5 separate regions of the Homo sapiens genome follow, and regions 1, 2, 3 and 4 are each linked to region 5. Evidence: promoter capture Hi-C in 16 types of primary human blood cells and fetal thymus (Javierre and others, 2016). All regions are on one chromosome and are shown on one strand. Each heading gives the region's core, a stretch centred on a gene start or on the middle of the fragment in contact. The rest is flanking DNA. Distances are from core to core; before and after follow the strand shown.

Evidence for each region. Contacts are between HindIII fragments. The CHiCAGO score rates a contact against its expected background, and 5 or more counts as called.
Region 1: a fragment that was not itself captured here is called in contact with the fragment with the promoter of PPP3CC in region 5 in 11 of 17 cell types (naive CD8 T cells, activated CD4 T cells, total CD8 T cells and 8 more); the score reaches 13.1 in naive CD8 T cells.
Region 2: a fragment that was not itself captured here is called in contact with the fragment with the promoter of PPP3CC in region 5 in 6 of 17 cell types (non-activated CD4 T cells, naive B cells, naive CD4 T cells and 3 more); the score reaches 6.9 in non-activated CD4 T cells.
Region 3: a fragment that was not itself captured here is called in contact with the fragment with the promoter of PPP3CC in region 5 in 3 of 17 cell types (endothelial precursors, M1 macrophages and naive CD4 T cells); the score reaches 8.5 in endothelial precursors.
Region 4: a contact is called between a fragment that was not itself captured here and the fragment with the promoter of PPP3CC in region 5, in 2 of 17 cell types (M2 macrophages and endothelial precursors). The highest score is 7.1, in M2 macrophages.

What each region holds. Positions count from the first base shown.
Region 1 is chr8:22,911,991-22,914,690 of GRCh38, forward strand. The region is part of intron 3 of PEBP4 (phosphatidylethanolamine binding protein 4); the gene reads right to left. Among named protein-coding and RNA genes, the nearest start is that of PEBP4, 15 kb to the right of the region's middle. RefSeq lists enhancers at 1-405, 406-1,177. The HindIII fragment of the contact is 5,686 bases long and covers 1-2,700 here.
Region 2 is chr8:22,753,536-22,756,235 of GRCh38, forward strand. All of the region lies in intron 4 of PEBP4 (phosphatidylethanolamine binding protein 4), which reads right to left. LOC107986925 (a long non-coding RNA gene) reads left to right here. Exons shown (of 3, transcript XR_007060852.1): 1 at 1-1,327; 2 at 2,193-2,473. Among named protein-coding and RNA genes, the nearest start is that of EGR3, 61 kb to the left of the region's middle. RefSeq lists an enhancer at 1,528-1,637. The HindIII fragment of the contact is 743 bases long and covers 929-1,671 here.
Region 3 is chr8:22,935,072-22,937,771 of GRCh38, forward strand. It overlaps a transcript of PEBP4 not described here. Among named protein-coding and RNA genes, the nearest start is that of PEBP4, 8.5 kb to the left of the region's middle. The HindIII fragment of the contact is 1,011 bases long and covers 858-1,868 here.
Region 4 is chr8:22,893,677-22,896,376 of GRCh38, forward strand. All of the region lies in intron 3 of PEBP4 (phosphatidylethanolamine binding protein 4), which reads right to left. It overlaps LOC124901907 (a long non-coding RNA gene), which reads right to left. Exons shown (of 2, transcript XR_007060854.1): 2 at 1,375-2,700. Among named protein-coding and RNA genes, the nearest start is that of PEBP4-AS1, 17 kb to the left of the region's middle. The HindIII fragment of the contact is 1,551 bases long and covers 590-2,140 here.
Region 5 is chr8:22,439,635-22,442,334 of GRCh38, forward strand. It overlaps PPP3CC (protein phosphatase 3 catalytic subunit gamma), which reads left to right and starts at 1,444. Exons shown (of 14, transcript NM_005605.5): 1 at 1,444-1,824. The coding sequence starts at 1,776. RefSeq lists silencers at 1,027-1,216, 1,307-1,966. The HindIII fragment of the contact is 13,070 bases long and covers 1-2,700 here.

The DNA of each region.
Region 1 (2,700 bases), core at 179-2,678, 470 kb after region 5:
GAGCTGCCGGCAAGATCTATCGGACTGGGGGTGGCGGATTGGGTAAGGGGGGGCGCTGTTTGATTAAAAGCTGCTGGGGGCAGGTTCAGGTCTGGCAGGAAGTTCTGGAATGACAGAGAAGGCCACGAGGATAAGGAGCCCTGGGAGTGAAGATTAAGACTGGGAATCCTCCTAATGGAGCCACCCTGAGTAAGACAGTCGCCGGAGCACGTGGCCGTTCTGTTAAGGTTTCCCCTCAGCCATTAAGTGTTTAACAGACAAGTGATAACAACAACAATGGACATTCTCACTATTGCAAGATGCCCATCACAGGCAGGGCAGGGGTGCGTTCTGTGTGTATCCCTCACTACCGGAACAGTACCTGGCAGAGGGGCAGAGAGTGGAGCTCCATCCGGATCTGCTCCAGTGAATACATGAATGACTGAATGACACCCCCTCTCCACTGTCAACATTACAGGCCTGTTTTCAGGAACCGGGGGATTCCGGAGGCAAAATTACATAGGTGAAAGGTAGTTGACTGCAAGCCAGGGAAGCTGCCATCCGGGGCTGGTTCTCCCACTTCCCAGGTTTGGCAAGTGTGACCCTGGGCAGCGCCCTCATCTGTCATCAAGGGGATAATCCCCGCTCTATCCATCGCCCCATGTTGCTAGGAGGATCTGTCCTGTGAAGTCCTGCATAGGAAGTGTCTTTGCAACCTGAACATCTAACTGCAAAGGTTAGAAATGCTGACAATCCTCACTCCCCTTTCACCCAGTCCAGTTGCACCCAGAGGAGCCCCGGATGACCTGGCTGGGGACCTGGGCTAGAGTGGGACACAGCTGAGTGATGTTAGCACTTTGACTACTTGCACTGAAGGAGCCAGGGACAAAGGATAAAATGACCTGATTCGTCCTTGCCTGGGTGCTGCGCGCCCTCCTCACCTGCCTTCCCACACCTGGCTCCGCCTGTTAGCACCTGAGCCCTTCATTTACAAGCTCAGCGGCCTCCTGTCCCCTCTGCCTCTGGGCCTCAAACACACACAGTTCTCCTGGAACCTTGGAAAGTCCAACTCTTCTTTTGTGTCTTCTGTCCTTCAGACTACAAATCCATCTCTTTCTATTGTAGTGACAACTGATCCCATCCATGAAACTCCAGTTAGGTGCTCGGCACCAAATACAGTGGCATCTCATGAATTCTTCCCTAAACCCTCACCTGATGCACTGGTGATCTCCCCAGGGTGGCCCCTTACCCTGTCCTGACTTTACCTTCTGCTCCCAGCCCGCAGTCCTGGAACGATCCAGATCCAGTGGCTCTTCCCCAGCCTGGCCCCATGCAGCCTCTCCCAGCAGTGGAGCCTGGTGACTCCTGCTCCCCATTCCTGCCTCTTCCCTGCACCTCCCTCCTCTGTGCACCTTTACTTCTTCTGCAATGTCCGTGACATCATCATTCCCCACGCTCTGCCCCAAAGTCCTTCCACCCTGCAATTTCATGACATTGCCTCTTCCCCCTGCAGTAGGGGCTTGGCTGGCTGAGCTCCAGCTCCCAGGGCCAGCATAGGGCAGCCCCCTCCAGCCCCTGCGGCCACACCTGCACCCCTCCTGCCCACTATCCCCTTCCTCCTCCTCTTCCCTCAGAAGCATCTCCGGCACCTCCCACCCCTGACTTCCAGTCAGTGGCCAGGTCCCATTGGCTCCAAAGGAGCTGGACACCCTTTGAAATATCCTCCTAACTCCCACCATTCACACCGTTTATCACCTTGGAATGAGCATTTCCAGTCGACCCCTCAACCCCTCCTTCTGCTGTATTTTGACACTGCCCTTTTATTGGCTCCTTCCTGCCAGAATTTACTTATTTATTTAGAGTTGGGGTCTTGCTCTGTTGCCCAGGCTGAAGTGCAGTGGCACAATCATAGCTCCTTAGCCTATTGCAGCCTTGAACTCCTGGGTTCAAGTGATTTTCCCACCTTAGCCTCCCCAGTACCTAGGACTACAGGTGTGAACTACCAGGCCTGGCTACTTTTTTTTTTTTTTTTTTTTGAGACAGAGTCTTGCTCTGTTGCCCAGGCTGGAGTATAGTGGCGCGATCTAGGCTCACTGCAACCTCTGCCTCCTGGGTTCAAGTGATTCTCCTATCTCAGCCTCCCAAGTACCTGGGATTACAGGCATGTGCCACCACACCCAGCTAAGTTTTGTATTTTTAGTAGAAATGGGGTTTCACCATGTTTGCCAGGCTGATCTCCTGACTTCAAGTGATCTGCCCACCTCAGCCTCCCAAAGTGCTGGGATTACAGGCATCAACCACCATAAGGCCTGGTTAACTTCATTTTTTTGTAGAGATGGGGTCTCTAACTCCTGACCTCAAGCAAATCCTCCTGTCTTGGGCTCCCAAAGTGCTGGGATTAGAGATGTGACCCACTTCGTAAATATTACTGAACACATACTGTGCCCAGCCCCTGCCAGCACTTAAACATTCGCAGGCATCTCTTCTCCCCTGGCAAAGCGGTGGTGTGAGTAGCCTACTCCATGGGATCCACTCCTCATTCACTCCTTGGTCCCCTCACACGGGTAACCAGTGGCTTGCTGGGGTAAGGCAGTGCGTGCGTTTCCTGTGGCCTCACCCAACCTCTCTGGCTGGCTGCTGTTGAGCATAGCAGAGCCTACCCGCAGGTAAACCTGTCCTCCTCTCAGAGTCCACGCCTGCTGGAACACTGAGGATGCAGAC
Region 2 (2,700 bases), core at 50-2,549, 310 kb after region 5:
TGTTTCATGTGGACACATGATGCTGGGAGAACTTCAGAGCTAGGCAGCTCCCACAACTGCCAAGAGACTGAAGCTGAACTTCAAGGCAGAGTCCTCCAGAGTGGCTTAGGCAAAGTCTCCACCTTGCTGAAGCCCTTCCTGGTCCACCACTCCTTGTGGAGGAGAGGGGAAGGTGGGAGCCAGGGTCTGGGGCTTTGCCGGGCTGGTGGCCGCCTCAACATTGGCTTTGGGATGAATCTCAGGACCAGACTTCCCCGCCCTTGTGTGGGAGGTGTGAGGGGCTGGAGCTGGGAGGCAGGAAGTGAGCGCAGATGGGCTACCGCCTGGACAGCTGTGCGGGGAACAGAGCACATCTGTCTGGGTGTGAGTGGGGCCCCTCCCCACAACCTCTGCTGATTCTACATGTTTGATAGGGTGTGGGCTGAGGGTGTGGGCTGAGGGTCCCAAATGGGGAAGAAGATGGGAAAGTCTGACTATAGAGCAGGAACGAGGGTTGCTGATGGGGTATGTTCAGATGGAGGGAGAGGAGGGTTGAAGAGAAAGTGGAAAATGGAAGCAAACAGATCAAATTTTATCTTTCTCAGGATGGGCTCTGGGCTTTCAGCGGCTCTCCAAGCCCCAGGGTCTGATGTCTGTTCCTCTGGGAAGCTGCCCTAGACCCCTGGCCGCCCCACCCACAGGGTGCTCCCTCCTGGTGCTTCCAGTATCTTACATCGTAGTTGTGAAAGTCCCTGGGATAACTGCTCATTTTTCTACCTTACCTACTGGACTGCGGGTGTATTAAGATCAGAGACCTTGTCTCTGTGACTGAATCCTCACTCTGTAGACGTGTGTTGAGTGAATGAATGATTTTATGACCTTAACCAACACAAATTTTTCTATTTAATTCCTTAATTTTTCTCTAATTGGCTTTAAAAATTGCTAGGAAAGCTTATCCCAAGTAGATGCCTGGGAGATCTTTGGGAGTTAGAAGCTGGAGTAGATTTCTCATCAGAAATTTGCCAGCAGGCCTGGAAGTGAGAGAGCCTTTTGCTCTTTTCAGGGAGCAAAGCAGAGAGGAAAGGCTCATTCTAGAAACTGCACACCCTGACTTGGCTTCATGGCCATTTGTGTGGCCTCCTTGGGGCGGTTGGTCTCCCTCCACATGAAGCTGTCATCTGCCTGATATTGAGCCAGCTAGGCAGGGAGTATGGATCACACAGACCTCTGCAGGCTCAGGAGGTGGATAATTTCCCCACATCTCTCCCCTCCCTCACCTCTCTCTGGTTTTCACAGTGCAATGAAAGGATGTGGGAGTTTGAGACCCATCTCTGCTGTGTGGCCCTGGGTGAGTCAGTTCTCCTCTTTGGGCCTCAGTGTTCTCATCTATAGAATGGGAGGGCTGGACTGAGACTCCTTCCGGCTCTTAACTACTGTGAATCTGGTAGGCTAATGAGGAGGGAATATGGCCCTTGGTGGTTATTACTGTCTCCTGAGAGCCTGGGCTGGGGCTTTCCCTTAACTTAGGTGTGGGAAAGTGGGGAAGGGCCCAAGAGGCCATTATTCCACTCCCGGGTTTCGAAACCACTCCTGAGTTCACCTGCTGCTATAACGGTGACTCTTCTTGGATGATTTAGTTGAGTCTTGCCTGGAGTCCAAAGATCTGCTTGAGTGATTCTTAAATGTTTCTCAAGCTTCTGCTCCTGGCTTTCTATTATCTAGCGGAGTGTAACAGAAATGCCAATAGGCAGGAAGGAAGAGCTGAAGTTCCCAGGGCTTTGGGCCAAAATCGTATACTCATTTCTCTCCCTCTTTTTTTTTTTTTTTTTTTTTTTTTTTGAGACGGAGTCATGCTCTGTCACCCAGGCTGCCGCGCAGTGGCGTGATCTCGGCTCATTGCAACCTCTGCTTTCCGGGTTCAAGCGTTTCTCCTGCCTCAGCCTCCTGAGTAGCTGGGATTACAGGTGCCCGCCACCACACTCAGCTAATTTTTGTATTTTTAGTAGAGATGGGGTTCTACCATGTTGGCCAGTCTGGTCTCAAGCTCCTGACCTCAAGTAATCCATCCACCTTGGCCTCCCAAAGTGGTGGGATTACAGGCGTGAGCCACCGTGCTGGGGCAAAATTGTATACTCTTTTCTAACATCATTTTTGTCATCATCATCACCATCCATTACTGATAATGTTAGACATTTATTGTTCTTTTTTTTCAGCCATGTGCAGTGGGTAAGTACATCAGCAAGCAAACTGGCCTCAAGAATCCCGCCCTATCCTGGGCATCTGGGGTTGAGGCTGGCTGTGCCAACCTTTGCACAGGGTTTCAATCTGACCTCACTCAGAAAACGGAGCCACTTGCTTAGAGTCCCTCTCTCTGAACACGCTCTCCCCTCTGGAGGAAAAGCATTGCAATCCCAAGCTCCTGCTGCTGCCGTACATCTGCATCTTATTCATCTTTGAAGCTCCTGCAATGCCTCCAACGGGGACACAACTAAAGGTGCTCGCTAAATACTTATTGATAATAATCATTATAATGATGTATCATAATAGATTCAGCGGGGAAGTTGGCTACTGAGCTGCCCTGAGCTGAGACCCATATTTAACTCCTTGTCTGAGCATCTTCTGTGCTCAGGCCAGAGCGACAGCCTTGCGAGGCTAGCGTGGGATGGTCTGGAGACAAGGTGGCAAGACTCAGGCAGGAGCTGAACAGCTGGCGCCTCCTTC
Region 3 (2,700 bases), core at 113-2,612, 500 kb after region 5:
AAACCTATATGCACCAAACATCAGGGATCCAAAATATATAAGCATACAAGGATAGAATTGAAGGGAAAAATAGGTAGCTTAACAACAGTAATTGGAAATTTCAGTACTCCACTTTTAATAGTGAATAGAACAACTAGGCAGAAGACCAATTAAAGAAATGGGAGACTGGCTGGGCATGGTGGCTCACACCTGTCATCCCAGCACTTTGGGAAGCCGAGGTGGGTGGATCACTTGAGGTCAGGAGTTCAAGACCAGCCTGGCCAACATGGAGAAACCATGTCTCTACTAAAAATACAAAAATTAGCTGGGCATGGTGGCAGGCACCTGTAGTCCCATCCCAGCTACTTGGGAGGCTGAGGCAGGAGAATTGCTTGAACCCAGGAGGCAGAGGTTGCAGTGAGCTGAGATCGCTCCACTGCAGTCCAGCCTGGGCAGCAGAGTGAGACTGTCTCAAAAACAAAAAACACAATACATCCCTAAGCCAAAAATTGGAATTCTGAAATGCTTCAAGATTTAAAACTTTGAAGGCCTATGGAATACTACAAGTGAAAAAATCCTACACCTGACCTCATGTGATGGGTCACAGTCAAAACTTTGTTTTATGCACAACATTATTAATAATATTGTATAAAACTATCTTTAGGCTGTGTATAAGGTATATATAAACATAAATAAATTTCATGTTTAGACTTAGGTCCCATCTCCAAAATATCTCATATATGCAAATATTCTAAAATCTGAAAAATTTGAAATTTGAAATACTTCTTGTCCCAAGTGTTTTCGATAAGGGAAACAACTGGTATACCAAGATGTATGGGATGCAGTGAAAGCTGTACATGCTGTAAAATAGCTATAAAAGCTTACATTGAGAAGTTGTAAATGCTTATATTAAAAAAGAAGGAGGATCTCAAATCAACAACCTAAATTTACACCTTAAGGAGCTAGGGAAAAAAAAAAAAAAGAACAAGATAACCCAAAGCTAGCAGAAAGAAAGAAATACTAAAGATTGCAACAGACATAAAATAGAGAACAGAAAAACAGAAAATCAACAAAACCAAAAGTTGGTTCTTTGAAAAACATCAGTAAAATTGACACTATCAGCCAGATTAATTAAAAAACAGAGAAGACTCAAATTACTAAAATAAGAAATGAAGTGAGGAGATTACTCTAAAATTTATAAAAATAAAAATATAAATAATATTTTACAGAAATAAAAAGGGTGATAAGAGATTAATATAAACAATGGGTAAGGTTGTTGGTTATGTAATAAATTTGATAACCCAGATGAAATGGACAAATTCCTGGAAACATAAAACCTACCAAGACTGAATCATAAAGAGATGGAAAGCCTGAATAGATCCACAACTAGTAAGAAGATTGAAGCAGTAATCAAAAATGCCCCAGTGAAGAAAAGTTCTGAACCAGATAGTTTTACTGGTGATTTCTACCAAACATTTAAAGAAGAATGAACACTCATCCTTCTCAAACTCTTCCAAAACATTGGAGAGAATACTCCCTGACTCACTCTGTGAAGCCAGCGTTACTATGATACCAAAGCCAATTTTCTAACCAAAGTTAGAAAAGAAAACCACAAAGCAATATCCCTTAGAAACTCTGATGCAAAAGTCCCCAACAAAATATTAGCATAGATAATTCAACAGTACACCGATAGGATTATACAGCATAACCAAGTGAGATTTATTTCTGGAATGCAAGCATGATTCAACATATAAAAACCAATCAACATAATACCGCCACATTAATAGAATGAAGGAAAAATACTACATGGTCATCTCAATTGATGCAAAAAAAGCATTTGACAAAACTCAACACACTTCCATGATAAAAACAAACTAGGAAGGGAAAGAAGCTTCCTCGATATGATAAAGGCCATATACAAAAAGCCCACAGATAACAACATACTCAATGGTGACAGACTTCAAGTTTTCCTCTAAGATCAGGAACAAAACAAGGATGTATGCATTTGCCACTCTTATTCAACATATATAGAAAGTTCTAGCCAGAGCAATTATGCAAGAAAAGAAATAAAAGGCATCCAAATTAGAAAGGAAGAAGTACAATTATCTGTTTGCAGATGACAATCTTACATATAGAAAACTCTAATTTTTTAAAAAAGAAAAACTGTTAGAGCTAATAAGCAAATTCAGTAAAGTTGTAATTTACAAAATCAACAAACAAAAATCAAATGCATTTCTTTGCTCTAAAAACGAAGAATTCAAATAGGAAATTAGGAAAACAACTCTGTTTATGATTACATAAAGCAGAATAAACTAGGAATAAACTTAACCAAGGAGGTGAAAGACTTGCACACTGAAACTACAAAATTTTGCTAAAATAAATTAAAGAAGAGATAAATGTAAAGACATTCAATGCTCATGGAGTGGAAGACTTAATATTGTTAAAATGACAAAGTTACTCAAAGTGACCTACAGATTAATTGCAACTCCTATGAAAATGTCAATTTTTTTTTACAGAAATAGAAAAACCCATCCTAAAATTTATATATAATCTTGTGGGACCCCAAATAGTCAAAACAGTCTTGAAAAGAAAACATAGTTGAAGGACTCGTACTTTCTGATTACAAAACTTACTACAAAGCTACAGTAATCCAAATAGTTTGGTACTGGCATAAAGACAGATAAATAGGCCAACGGAATAGACTAGAGAGCCCAGAAATAA
Region 4 (2,700 bases), core at 115-2,614, 450 kb after region 5:
TAACAGAAGGTTAACTATACAGAATAAGATATTAGTGAACTTGAAGACACAGCAATAGAAACTATTCAAAATAAAACACAGAGAGAAAAAAGACTGAAAAAAACCCACCAGAATAGCATATCAGTGAGCTGTGGGACATCTTCAAGTAGCCAAATATACATGCAATAGGAGTCCCTAAAATTCCCTTTTAGGGAATATTAGAAAAAATATTAGAAGACATAATGGCTGAAAAATGTCTTAATTTGATGAAAACTGTAAACCCACAGATCCCAGAAGCCCAACCAAAGAAATGCCAAGCACAAGACACATGAGAAAACTACACCAAACACATCACAATCAAATTGCTTAAAACCAGTGAAGATGAGAGCACAGGTTACCATTAGCAAATGTGTCACTGGCAGCCCGCGGCATATAGTAGCAAAATAATCTTGATTATCAAGTGTGATTACCTAGAACAAAGTACCCATTGAAGATAAGAGTTTGGCGGAATTGCACGATAGATTATTATGTCAGAATGATGAATATAAAGATGTTGGAATAAGATGACTTCTTCTGCCAGAAGTGGGAAAAGTAAAGAAAAATGGTTAGAAGCTTGAGGTTTAAATTCTTGGCACAGCCATGCATAGTGGCTCACTCTATAATCCCAGCACTTTGGGAAGCCAAGGCAGATGGATGGCTTCAGCCCAGGAGTTCGAGACCAGCCCAGGCAACATGGTAAGACCCTGTCTCTACAAAAAATAAAAAATAAATAAAAAAAATTCCAAGCATAGTGGCATGTGCCTGTAGTCCCAGCTACTCAGGAGGCTGAGGTGGGAAGATTGCTTGATTCCAGGAGGTCAAGGCTGCAGTGAACCGTAATCATGCCACTGCACTCCAGCTTGGGCAACAGAGTGAGACCCTGTCTCTAAAAATAAAATAAAATAGTAATAAATTCTTGGCTCAAGGCTCAATCAGAAGAGCAAGGAACAGTTAAGACTATCCTGAAAGAATCTCCCACGGTTTGTAGTTTCAGGGCCAACAAAACTGAAATCAGAAGTGAAGTCTGACCCAGCAGGTTGTAGAATTACAACCTAAGTTAAGTTCACAGCCTCATCAGGTCTCTTATGGGAGATGGTGTTGACTGGGAAAGATGGAACCCTGTGAATGGGGATGCTGAATTCATATAACTGAGTCTTAGACCCTGCTGAGCCTCCCTTTCCAGCAGAAGCTGCCCCTTTTCCCCAGGTCCTGTCTTGCAAGAGAATCCTGATTCTCCCTGAGGTCGACACTTACCACCCCTGGCTGCTCCTGACCTATTCTAGAATCAGATTTCAGCATGGCCAAGGGAGACAAGCACAAAGTCTGATTCTGAAACAGTAGACTTTCACACCAAAGTAGGTGCCATTTGTTTTTTAATATTTATTGGCAGAAATCTGAGAAATGTATAGTAAGGTGCTGATCACGGAGGAAAGAAGATCATTTTCAATTGGGCCATATTGATCAATATGGATTCTGGATCCAAAGTACTGGCTGGATCATCTGGGTATGGTTCTGTTCACTCAGTGGGTTATCTGAAATGAAACCTGAACTGAATGGCATCCTATACTAAATAAAGCTAAGGTGACAGAAGTTCCTTGATATAAAGCAAGGAATCTTAATACCTGGAGAGGCATAATAATGTTGGGGTGGGCTTACACATGTGTTCCCCACATACCCTCCTTCACTCTGTCCCAGGAGAACATACTTTCTTCACAAGCATTTAGACATGCTTTGGTGAGGGGGACACCGGCATTCTGTTTTCCTTGGTTGTCTTCAGAATTTATCTTTGGTTTTTAGCAGTTTGATCATGACACATCTAGGTGGATTTTTTTAAAAATTCTGATTAAGGTTCTCTGAGTATCTTGGACTTGTGGTATGTTGCCTTTCTTTAACAAGTTCTTGGTCATTATCTCTTCAAATAGTTCTACTCTGCTCTCTTTTCTTAATGAGATCCCAACTATACATATGTTAGACCATTTTATGTTGTCTCACAATGCTTGGGTGCTCTGTTCTGTCCCCCAGCCTTCTTTTCTCTCTTTATATTTCTTTAGATCATTTCTGTTGCTCTATCTTCAAGTTCACTGATTTTTCCAGTTTATATGTTACGTCTAATTTGCTGAGAAGCTTAAGTTCCTGTTTCAGTAACCTGACTAGTTTTCCAAGTTTGTCGGAAGTTCTGCTTTTTTGGCCACATCCTTGAACCCAGCCTAGGTGGCATTGGCCCTGCTTCCCATGGGCAGGTTTCTTCATGCCAGCCTCTCTGCCTGTGCTCCCAGTTACTGCCTACCTACTGCCCCCTCTGCCCTGGGGCAGATTTGCTGTGTGGCATCAGACAGTTGCCTGAAAGTTGCTGGTATTGTGGTTGGAGAGATGAAACCATGTTCCCAAATCCCACATCCTTGCATCAAGTAAGAAAAGTGCCACTGGAACCTAGAATGATGTGGGAACCCAGAAGAAGAAGATGTCCTAGTCTGGGAGGAGAGACAGGGAATGGAGCTTGGACAATCACTGTCATAGCTGGAGTGTGATCTGATGAAGATCTGAACTAGAGAAATACATAGGCCACGGTAATACTAATTAATCAGGAATGGTTGAGTTTTGCTCCCGCTGACCTATCAATTCTTACTCCAATGGCTCCTTTAACCGATAGTTGCAGTGTTCAGTGGGGTATTATCCAGGCTC
Region 5 (2,700 bases), core at 194-2,693:
GGATATCTGAACAATTCTCTTGGGTGGAAGACTCAAGGATCATGAAAACGAAAACCAAATTCTAGTCGGCTCCTAAAGTCCTTTTGCCTCCTGCGGTTACCATCAAAGAGCTATGGTCAAAATTCCAAGGGATAATTCAGGGTCTGATTCCACTATATATCCCCAGACCGCCTATACATAAATCCATATTATTGGAGATTTACGCTTAATCCTATAATCTTTTACCTAACAGCTGTCCAGTAGAATTTTCTGGATGTCCAATAAGGTAGCCGCGTGTAGCTCTTGAACACTTGAAATGTGGCTAGTCCCCTAGAGGAACGGGATTAATTTAAATTTACATAGCTACAACTACTTATCGGTCACTGCGGTAATTGTTAAGACTGGTTTTGCCTGTAACTTGCATATGTTTTATTGGACATCAGTTTCAATATTTCATTTGCATTGCTAAAAGTCAAAATCCTTTTGACTTTGCCAGTTACTCAGTGAGAGGACAGTTGGAGCCAGTTTCTGTTCTAGGCTTACAGTTTTAAGGACAGATAAAGGTTAGTTTTTAACCTCGAGATGAACAGACTGTTAAGTTTCTACGGACTTGCCCATGGGGTTCCACAGTGAGCCTGGGCCGGGGAGGCAGGTACTGTGTCAGGGGGAAGAAAAAAGGGGCTTCTAGCTGGGCAGGTGACACACAGGGCATAGGAAGAGGTCAGTTCTTGTGGCCGAGGAGGTCCGGCCCGGGGGTCCCAGGAGCAGAGATCTCCCTTCTCTTCGATGTGGAAAGTGAGGAGGGAGCAGAGCCTTGCTCAGAAACGGAGCTCCCCCAATCCCCCACCGCCCTAGCTACTGGACTGGAACTAGGATGGACACGAATGTCCTTCTCATTGTACTAACTGCACTCAACAAGCGGGAAAGATGAAGCGAGGGGGTTTAAATGTGTGCGTTTGTTGAATGACCCACAAAAACTGAAGGAGCGCGGCCGGACTGATCACACTCCTTGAGACAAAGCGGGTGGGAGACCCAGAGGTGAGGAGGGTGGTCGCCTGTGGGCGAGGACTGGGAGGCCAGGGGTTCTCGGCGAGGCGGTCCCAGGAGGCGGCGCGGAGCCGCTGCGAGGCCGCAGGGCCGGGTCGCAAGATGGCCGGGCCGGCCTCCCGCGCGGGTCGCGCGGGCCACGCGGGCGGGTTTCAGATGTTCCGGGCCCGGGTAGGGGCTGGCAGGAGAGAAGGGGCCGGCTGCGGGGAGGGCTGGCTGAGAAGAAGCGAAAATGGGCGGTTAGCAGCAGGGACCCGGAGCCGGAGGAGCCGAGAGCAGCGCGTGCGCCGAGCTCTACTGCCTCGCGGGAAGGCGGAAGGGTGGGGAGGGCGGCGCTCGGGGCGGGAGGCCCGGCCGGGTCCGCTAGGACAGCGGGGCCGCTGGGAAGTTGTGAGAGCGGCGCTCGGGGGCGCGCTTGCGTGCACGAGGGCCCGGGCCGCGAGCAGCCGCGGCCGTCCCGGTCGCCACCCTTAGCAGCGGTCGCGGTCGGTGCCGAAGCGGTGTTCCCCGCCTTAGCCGCTGGCGCCTCCCAAGAGAGCGGCCGGTGGGCCCTCGTCCTGTCAGTGGCGTCGGAGGCCGGCGCTGCGGTGGCCGCGCCCTTCTGGTGCTCGGACACCGCTGAGGAGCCGGGGCCGGGCACGGCTGGCTGACGGCTCCGGGCAGCTAAGGCTGCCCGAGGAGAAGGCGGCGGCCGCGGCGTAGGCGCACGTCCGGCGGGCTCCTGGAGCCTGGAGGAGGCCGAGGGGACCATGTCCGGGAGGCGCTTCCACCTCTCCACCACCGACCGCGTCATCAAAGGTGCCTGGCGGGCCGGGCCTTCCTCTGGGACCCGCGGGAAACGGCCTTCGGCTGGGCGGCGGCTCGGGGCGGAGGGAGGCTGGGGCCGGGCTGCGCCCACCCTAGGAGGGCTCGGAGGGGTGTAGACAGAGCCGGGCGGCAGCCTCCGAGAGCAGCCACCCGGACCCGGCGTTTTCTGCTGCACCTGGTCAGGTGCCTGGCCGTCAGTGCCAAGTTCCCTCCCGAAGGGTTCAGGGTGCAGTGGGGACTTCTTCTCCCACCGCCCCGAAGGGCCCGGATCCCTGTCTTTTTTTCTCTTTAAGAAACGACTCGGGGGAAGCCATCGGGGGTGGTGTGAGCAGGGAGTCGACTCTTCCAAGTAAGATATTTAAGATTAGATCTTTCTTGACGTCCGCCCCCCACCCTTTTTTAGGACGTATACCATGTGCCTTTTGACCCGCTTTCTCTAGATCATTGCAAGTCACTGCTATTACTGGAATAAACTTAGTATGAACAAGTCAGATAAATCCATTATATGATGTTTAAAATAAGTTTACGGAGCTCTTGACAGGGTAATGGTATTTTATTTTCCCTTTGGTTATAAAGACTTGGAGAATGACGTTTTCTGATTCATATGTGTACCTGCGTTAGATTTCTGTTGTTGTTATAAGAACAAAATGTAAAGGGCTCTTTGCTCTCTAAATCTTGTAGAGTTTTAGGTTATAGTTGTTTCTCCCTTTAAACTAAGAAGATGGATTACACATAACCACTAATTTATGTGCTGCTTTTATTCAGCCGTAAGTCTTAGGCACAACCCTTCTCTCTGAGATTAACAATCGGTTTGAAAGCGCTATTTTGTAAGAAGGGAATAGACTTAGACCAGCTGTGTTAGTGGCC